Regions from separate parts of the Homo sapiens genome. Here region 1 is linked to region 2. The links are contacts of gene promoters, found by promoter capture Hi-C in human tissues and cell types (Jung and others, 2019). All regions are on one chromosome and are shown on one strand. Each heading gives the region's core, a stretch centred on a gene start or on the middle of the fragment in contact. The rest is flanking DNA. Distances are from core to core; before and after follow the strand shown. Region 1 has its middle 12 kb from the start of FOSB. Region 2 holds the start of SMG9 (SMG9 nonsense mediated mRNA decay factor).

The links. The method cuts DNA at HindIII sites, captures the fragments that hold promoters and counts their contacts. A contact is called where the count stands out against the background at its distance.
Region 1: a contact is called between a fragment that was not itself captured here and the fragment with the promoter of SMG9 in region 2, in 1 of the 25 tissues and cell types used here (pancreas).

The regions. Positions count from the first base shown.
Region 1 is chr19:45,453,771-45,457,408 of GRCh38, forward strand. No RefSeq gene overlaps it. Among named protein-coding and RNA genes, the nearest start is that of FOSB, 12 kb to the right of the region's middle. RefSeq lists enhancers at 711-770, 1,078-2,044, 1,807-2,056, 2,045-3,011. The HindIII fragment of the contact is 7,912 bases long and covers 1-3,638 here.
Region 2 is chr19:43,752,972-43,756,571 of GRCh38, forward strand. It overlaps SMG9 (SMG9 nonsense mediated mRNA decay factor), which reads right to left and starts at 1,991. Exons shown (of 14, transcript NM_019108.4): 1 at 1,683-1,991. RefSeq lists an enhancer at 922-1,181 and a silencer at 1,412-1,771. The HindIII fragment of the contact is 11,288 bases long and covers 1-3,600 here.

The DNA of each region.
Region 1 (3,638 bases), core at 330-2,829, 1.7 Mb after region 2:
GGACTGTTGTGGGAGAGTAAATGAGTTCATATGGAAAGCATTTAGAAAATGCCTGGCAGAAAACAAACATTTACAAAATACCTGTTTTGATTGTTGTCAGTATTATTACTTCCTCTGTGTGTGTCCTTGGATGTGCGTGTGCGTGTCTAGAATCTGGGTTGCAGATGCAGGCTTTAGCTCTGTAGTCCTGTGTTACTGGGTACCCAAATGCCCTGAGTCTCACTTTCCTTCCTATACCATGGGCATGTTCCAGACCTTCTCCAGGGCCAGTTGGGACTCAATGAAGCTGCATCTGGAACACCCCAATGGCTACAAGGCCCAGCCGTGGTCTGGTTTCAGGAAAGGTAAATGAAGGGTGAAGTTGGGACGGGATGGAATTGAGGTTCAAATCACTCCATGGGACTGGGAAAGTGGGAAGTGAAAGAGGGATGAAAGAGCGCATTTGAAGCAGGCAGACTGAGGGTCAGACTCCAGAAAGGACTTCCTCCTAGGACTATTTTGGGGCTGGGAACTATAAGAAATGAACTGTTTTGCTGGGCCTGGTGGCCTACACCTGTAATCCCAGCACTTTGGGAGGCCGAGGCAGGCAGATCGCAAGGTCAAGAGATCAAGATCATCCTGGTCAACCTGGTGAAACCCCATCTCTACTAAAAATACAAAAATTAGGTGGGCGTGGTGGCGCGTGCCTGTAGTCCCAGATACTCAGGAGGCAGAGGCAGGAGAATCACTTGAACTCGGGAGGCGGGGGTTGCAGTGAGCCGAAATTGCGCCACTGCACTCCAGCCTGGTGACAGAGCAAGACTCCCTCTCAAAAAAAAAAAAAGAAAGAAAAACATGAGCTGTTTGGAGAGCTGCCTGGAGGAAGAGAAACCAGCCTGAGTTTCACAGGCTAGTGGAATTTGGAGGGGGGCAATAATAGCAATAACAATAGGCCAGGCACGGTGGCTCACACCTGTAATCCCAGCACTTTGGGAGGCCGAGAAGGGTGGATCACCTGAGGTCTGGAGTTCGAGACCAGCCTGGCCAGCATGGCAAAACCCTGTCTTTACTAAAAATACAAAAAAAATTAACCAGGCTTGGTGGTGTGTGCCTGTAATTCCAGCTACTCGGGAGGTTGAGGCAGGAGAATAACTTGAACCCGGGAGGTGTGGGTTGCAGTGAACCGAGATCATGCCACTGCACTCCAGCCTGGGCGACAGAGTGAGACTTTGTGTCAAAAACAATAATAATAATAATAATAATGCACTAGGTGCAGATACTGATAAAGGCTTTGTGAGGAATTTTCTTTCTTTCTTTTTTCTTTTTTTTTTGAGACAGAGTCTCACTCTCTTTCCTGGCTGGAGTGCAGTGGCACGATCTCGGCTCACTGCAACCTCCGCCTCCCGGGTTCAAGCGATTCTCCTGCCTCAGGCTCCCAAGTGGCTGGGATAACAGGTGCCCACCACTACGCCCAGCTAATTTTTTTTTTTTTTTTAGATAGGGTCTGGCTCTGGCTCTGTCATACAGGCTGGAGCACAGTGGCATGATGACAACCCACTGCAGCCTTGACCTCCTGGGCTTAAGTGATCCTCTTGCCTCAGCCTCCTGAGTAGCTGGGGCTACAGGCTTATTTTTTTGTAGAGATGGGGTCTCACTCTGTTGCCCAGGCTGGTCTCAAACTTCTGGGCTCAAGCAATCCTCCTGCCTTGGCTTCCCAAAGTGCTGGGTTTACAGGAGTGAGCCACCATGTCTGGCCATTTGAGGAAATTTTTATTTTTGTCTGTCTTGTTTCCTGCTCTGTCCCCAGCACCTAGAGTGTGTGACTGCAGTGTGTGTGTGTGTGTGTGTGTGTGTGTGTGTGTGTGTGTAGGTGTGCTGATTAAATATTTGAATGGCTGATTGAATGAACGAATGAATGTCATCCTACAACCACTTGTGAGTCCTGGTCTTAGGGGAAGGCTGGGCTGGGGCCCTGGCCTCTGGGATCCCTCTTGTGCCAGTCCCCCAGCCCTGCTGTTCCCACAGCTCTGTGCTGAAGAGGGCGTGGAGGGGGCCAGGGAAGGGAGTGTCAGGCAGCCAGCCGGCTGCCTGCCCTGGACAGCAGCCCAGAGTGTCTGCAGGAGGGAGAGGGTAGTTCAGGAGCCTGAGTCACCCTGGGAGAAACCCCAGCCACATACCTGGCCGCTGACATCACCCGGCCAGGGCACCCCCGGCAGCCTAGACAAGCTGACTGAATCACAGGCGGAATTCAGCCACCCCGGGCACGTGGCCTGCTGTGACCCCCCGCAACACCCCCGAGTGGCCGTCTGGCTGCGGGGGTTGGGCCGGGCACACAGGGGTCAGTGAGGGGGCATGGGGCCTGAGTCAGGGACAGGGTGGCTACAGCCAGAGACCACCCAGCCACAGGCGTCCATGTGGGGCAGGAAGGAGAAAGTTTGGGAAGGAGAGCCTGTGGGGAGGCCCTGGCGGGTGAGGAGGAAGCACGTGTGGGTGTGACGGGGAGGCTGCGGCTTGTGGGCAGCGGCTGGGCGACCCACAGGGGTGGGATGGGGTCTGAGTGTTTGCGCAGAGAATCACCAAATCGTAAGAGACTTGGTCGTAAGAGTCAGTCAGGAGGACAATGGAATCACCAATGTGCTTACACACGCAAAGGCACACACGCACACTCAACACCCGGCCTGGGGAGGCCCTGACTCCACCCACCCCAGGCCAGCGGGGCCTCACTACCCATAAGCCTGCAAGTTCCCTAAGGGACTGAGGCCTAAGGGACAGTTTCCTCATCTGTTGAGTGGGGGTATTAACAAGCATTATTAGGCCAGGCACAGTGACTCGTGAGGCAGAGGTAGGCGGATCCCTTGGAGGCCAGAAGTTCAAGACCAGCCTGGACATCATAGCAAGACCCCTTCTCTACAAAGAAAAAATTTAAAAATTAGCTGGATGTGGTGGTGTGCACCTGTAGTCCCAGGTACTCAGGAGGCTGTGGAGGGTGGATTGCTGGAGTGTTGGAGTTTGAGACTGCAGTGAGCTATTGATTGCACCACTGTACTCCAGCCTAGACAACAGAACAAGATCCTATAGCAAAAAAAAAAAAAAAAAAAAATCACTATTATTGTAATAGCTATGCTTACGGGGAACATACTTTCTGCCAGGTGCTGTTCTAGGCATTCTACATTTTTTTTTTTTAAATAATGGAGATGACGTCTCACTATGTTTCCCAGGCTGGTCTTGAACTCCTGAGCTCAGGCTATCCTCTCGCTTTTTTGGTGGCTGGCACGCCTGTAATCCCGACATTTTGGGAGGCCAAGGTGGGTGGATCGCCGGAGCCCAAGAGTTCGAGACCAGCCTGGGAAACATAGTGAGATGCCATCTCTACCAAAAAATCAAAAAATTAGCTAAGCATGGTGGCTCATGCCTGTAGTCCCAGCTACTCAGGATGCTGAGGTGGGAGGATCACTTGAACCTGGGAGATGGAAGTTGCAGTAAGCTGAGATTGTGCCACTGCACTCCAGCCTGGGTGACAGAATAAGACCTTGTCTCAAAAAAAAAAAAAAAAAAAAAAAAAGAAGAAGAAAAAAGAGAGTCAACTGCATCTGTATTTGTGGCACTTGGTACATACACGGTAAGCTTTCTCAAGTGACTCTGTTATGATTCTTAGTACT
Region 2 (3,600 bases), core at 741-3,240:
CTGTTAAATCCCTCCATGAATCCTCCCCTGCCCCACCTCATAATGACATAAACAGGTCCCTCCGAGACTCTCCAGAATGGAAGGGTCTGTTTACAAGATGCAGTCATAATTTTGCTAGCCAGACAAGTGGCTTGTCTAGCTCCTCTCCTACTGTGCTACATGACCTCTCCCAGAGCCACAAGCCAGGCTGAAGACTGCTTTCCTAGACAGAGGAGGACAAGGGCCTGTTTACAGCTGCTTAGGGAAAATGACTCATTCCATACCGAAATGACTGCTTAGTCTGGGATGGAGATTCTCCCCAGAATCTGAGACTCCTCCCTCACTTGCAATTAAGTGTCTTTACACATTATTCTGAAATCTACCCAGTGCTTAAGTACTTGTCTTCATGCCTCAATTGGGATACTGCCCAGCCCTGAGGTTTCTGTTTACTGGCCTATGAGGATGCCCTTTCCTGTGCAAAGTAAGCGCCCCTGTGTGAATGCTTTTCTTTTTTTTTTTTTTTTTTTTTTGAGACGGTCTTGCTCTGTTGCCCAGGCTGGAGTGCAGTGGCACGATCTCAGCTGGCTGCGGCCTCTGCCTCCCGGGTTCAGGCAATTCTCCTGCCTCAGCCTCCCAAGTAGGTGGGATTACAGGTGCATACCACCAGGCCGGGCTAAGTTTTGCATTTTCAGTAGAGACGGGGTTTCGCCATGTTGGCCAGGCTGGTATCGAACTCCTGGCCTCAAGTGATTCGCCAGCCTCGGTCTCCCAAAGTGATCGGATTCCCCGGGTAAGCCACCGCACCTGGCCTCCCTGTGCCCTTTATTCTGGGAGCTTCCACAGTATCTGAATGTGGGGAGTTCCTTGGAACTTAAAAGCCCACCTAAACCAGGTGTGGAGGATACAGTGAGCCGAGATCGTGCCACTGCACTCCAGCCTGGGCGACAGAGCGAGACTCTTGTCTCAAAGAAAAAAAAAAAAAACCCCACCCACATGCAAGCTGGGGACTTCCAATGCTGTTTCCGGGCTCCTTTGGGGATTACCCCCAAACTTAGGAAAGCTGGTCTATTTAAGTGTCTGCTGATGGACTTCTAGGGTGACTTCCCGAAAATTAACAAATCGAATTTACATATTTTTGGGGAGTGTCTCCTCAGTATTTAGGCATCGCTTCACACACTCCCTTCGGGGATCTCCCAGAACCTCACTATTTGCAAATATTTGGGGAGACTCTCCCGATTCCTGAGTATGTAAGCCCACTTCGTGGGGCACTCCCCAGCCCAGAACTGTAGTCGATTTGCACATTTTCCTAAGGACTCCCTAGGATTTAAACTTCTCTCTACGGGGTTCTAGAAGGGAGCCTCCCCCGGATTTAGGCATTGCTTTACAAAGCTTCCCTCGGGGAACCCAACTCAAGTTTCTCGTTACACGTTATTGGGGCGGCCTCCCCAGTACTTGACGGGCAGTTTGCAGGCTGTACTTGGATCTCGCAGAGCATAAGTTTCTCATTTACACGTTATTTCCGTCCCCCGCCCCCATTCCTGCCAACCCAGTATCGAATTGACGGTCGCCGGCCCCCTACTCAGTGCCGCACCCCCGCCGGACGTCCCAGCGACCTTTCAATGGCCAAGGCGGGGGCGGGGCCTGCCGGAGCGCCCCGCCCGCCGCCGGTGCGCTAGCCTCGCGCGGGCTCGCGGCCCCCTTACCTAACGCGGCTGCTGATTGGTTCTCGGGGCGCGGTGTGCGCTCTCCCGTGACGGGAGTCGGGTGGGGGCGGGGAGGCTGACCCAAGCCACCCGCCTGCAAATGGCGTCTGGGGGCCAGGAACGTGGGAAGGAGAGAAAATGGGCACTCCCCACTCCGAAACCGGCCTCGGCGTCCGGGTTGCAGCCCCTAAGGAAAGCTGGGCCGAAGGAAGAAGAGGAGGAGGATGTAACGCGGGCCCGAGCTGAGATCAGTTCCCTCAGGCGACTCGTCCTGCGCATGCGCTGAGGGCTGGAGCTCGAGAACTGAATGCGCTCGCCGGGCTGAGCGTGCGTGGATGGAGGCGGTCGGCTTCAGCACGCATGCGGGTTCCGGAGCGGGAGGCGGGAGGACGCCGCGGCTCTGACTCAATGCGCGTGCGCGCGGTTGGGGGGTTGAGGGTGGGGAGATGAGTAGGGAAATGGATACGCCGAGGAGCCGGCAGGAGGGAGAGCGGCCCGGATCTGGGGTTCGAGTTGTGCCTCTTCGGTGATGTTGGCGGGATGCAGTGGGGTGGGACGACAGGGAGGAATTTCACTGTTCTGGGCTGAGTGCCAAGAACACATGAATGAATCAGACTTGGCGTGCGCCCTGGAAGACACCCCGGCCTGTGGAGAGACTGCCAGGGCCTCAAATCACTTAGGAAAGGGCGCGGGTCCGGTTGGACCTTGAAGGACAGGCAGGCGAGGGTACTCCAGGGAACAGCTAAGCAAAGGCGGCGAAGACCCCGGGGGAAGAGGTCTAGACTGGCTTGGATTCAGGGTCCACCTGGGTGGGAGGTGAGGCAGCAGAATGGGCAGGTCAGACCCTGAAGGGTCTCCAGTGTCAGTTTTATCCTTAAGGCCTGGGAGATGCAGAATAGTCTGAGACAGAACTATGTTTAAAACCCTCGAAGGCCGCGTTGGAGAAGGGAATCCGCTCCAGGGTCGAAAATTTAAACACACGTGGGCGGAGTCTTGCGCGCGCCAAAGAGGAACATTGGGCGACGGGCGCGGCCTGGAGAGCGCATGCGCATTCGGAAGGGTCGGCAGTTCCCCAGTGGGCAGAGTGGGTGGATGGGAAGGTTCTAGCTTTTTATTTGAAATTTTATTTATTTTTATTTTATTTATTTATTTAGAGACGGAGTCTCGCCCTGTCACCCAGGCTGGCGTGCAGTGGCGAGATCTCGGATCACTGCCGTCTCCACCTCCTGAAATTCAAGCGATTCTCCTGCCTCAGCCTCCCAAATAGCTGGGATTACAGGCGTCCACCACGCCTGGCTAATTTTTTGTATTTTTAGTAGAGACTGGGTTTTGCCATGTTGGCCAGGCTGGTCTCGAACTCCTGACCTCAAGTGATCCGCCCGCCTCGGCCTCCTAAAGTGCTAGGATGACAGGCGTGAGCCACCGTGGCTGGTCTAAAAAAAAGTTTTTTAAAATTATATTTGAACAGGTATTACATGTACATACACAATTCAAACCTCTCTGGCTGTATACAATAAAAGTAAGTTTCCACCTCTGGTTCCCATTTTCCTTTCCTAAAGCACTGGTTCCCGGTTTCCTTCTGGAGCTGCTGTTATAATAAAGCATTGGAGTTAAGAGCATGTGTTGAGTTCATATAAATAGCGGCTGAGCTTGACCAAGTGACTTAATACTCTCTACTTCTACGTCCCTGTTTGTGAATTGGGTGTGGTATAACCTTACTTACAACATTGCCGCCAGCATTAAATGGGTGAGAGTGCATAGAACAGTGCCTGTTGCCTAATGGTACTGTGTGTTGTCTCTGTGTATTATTTTGTGGTCTACCATGCTGATAGTTGTAGATTCTGAGCAGCCCTCTCCCCTCCAGGCCTCATCCCTACTGTCATTGTCCCAGTACCAGTACCAGGTGGAGCCACCTCTC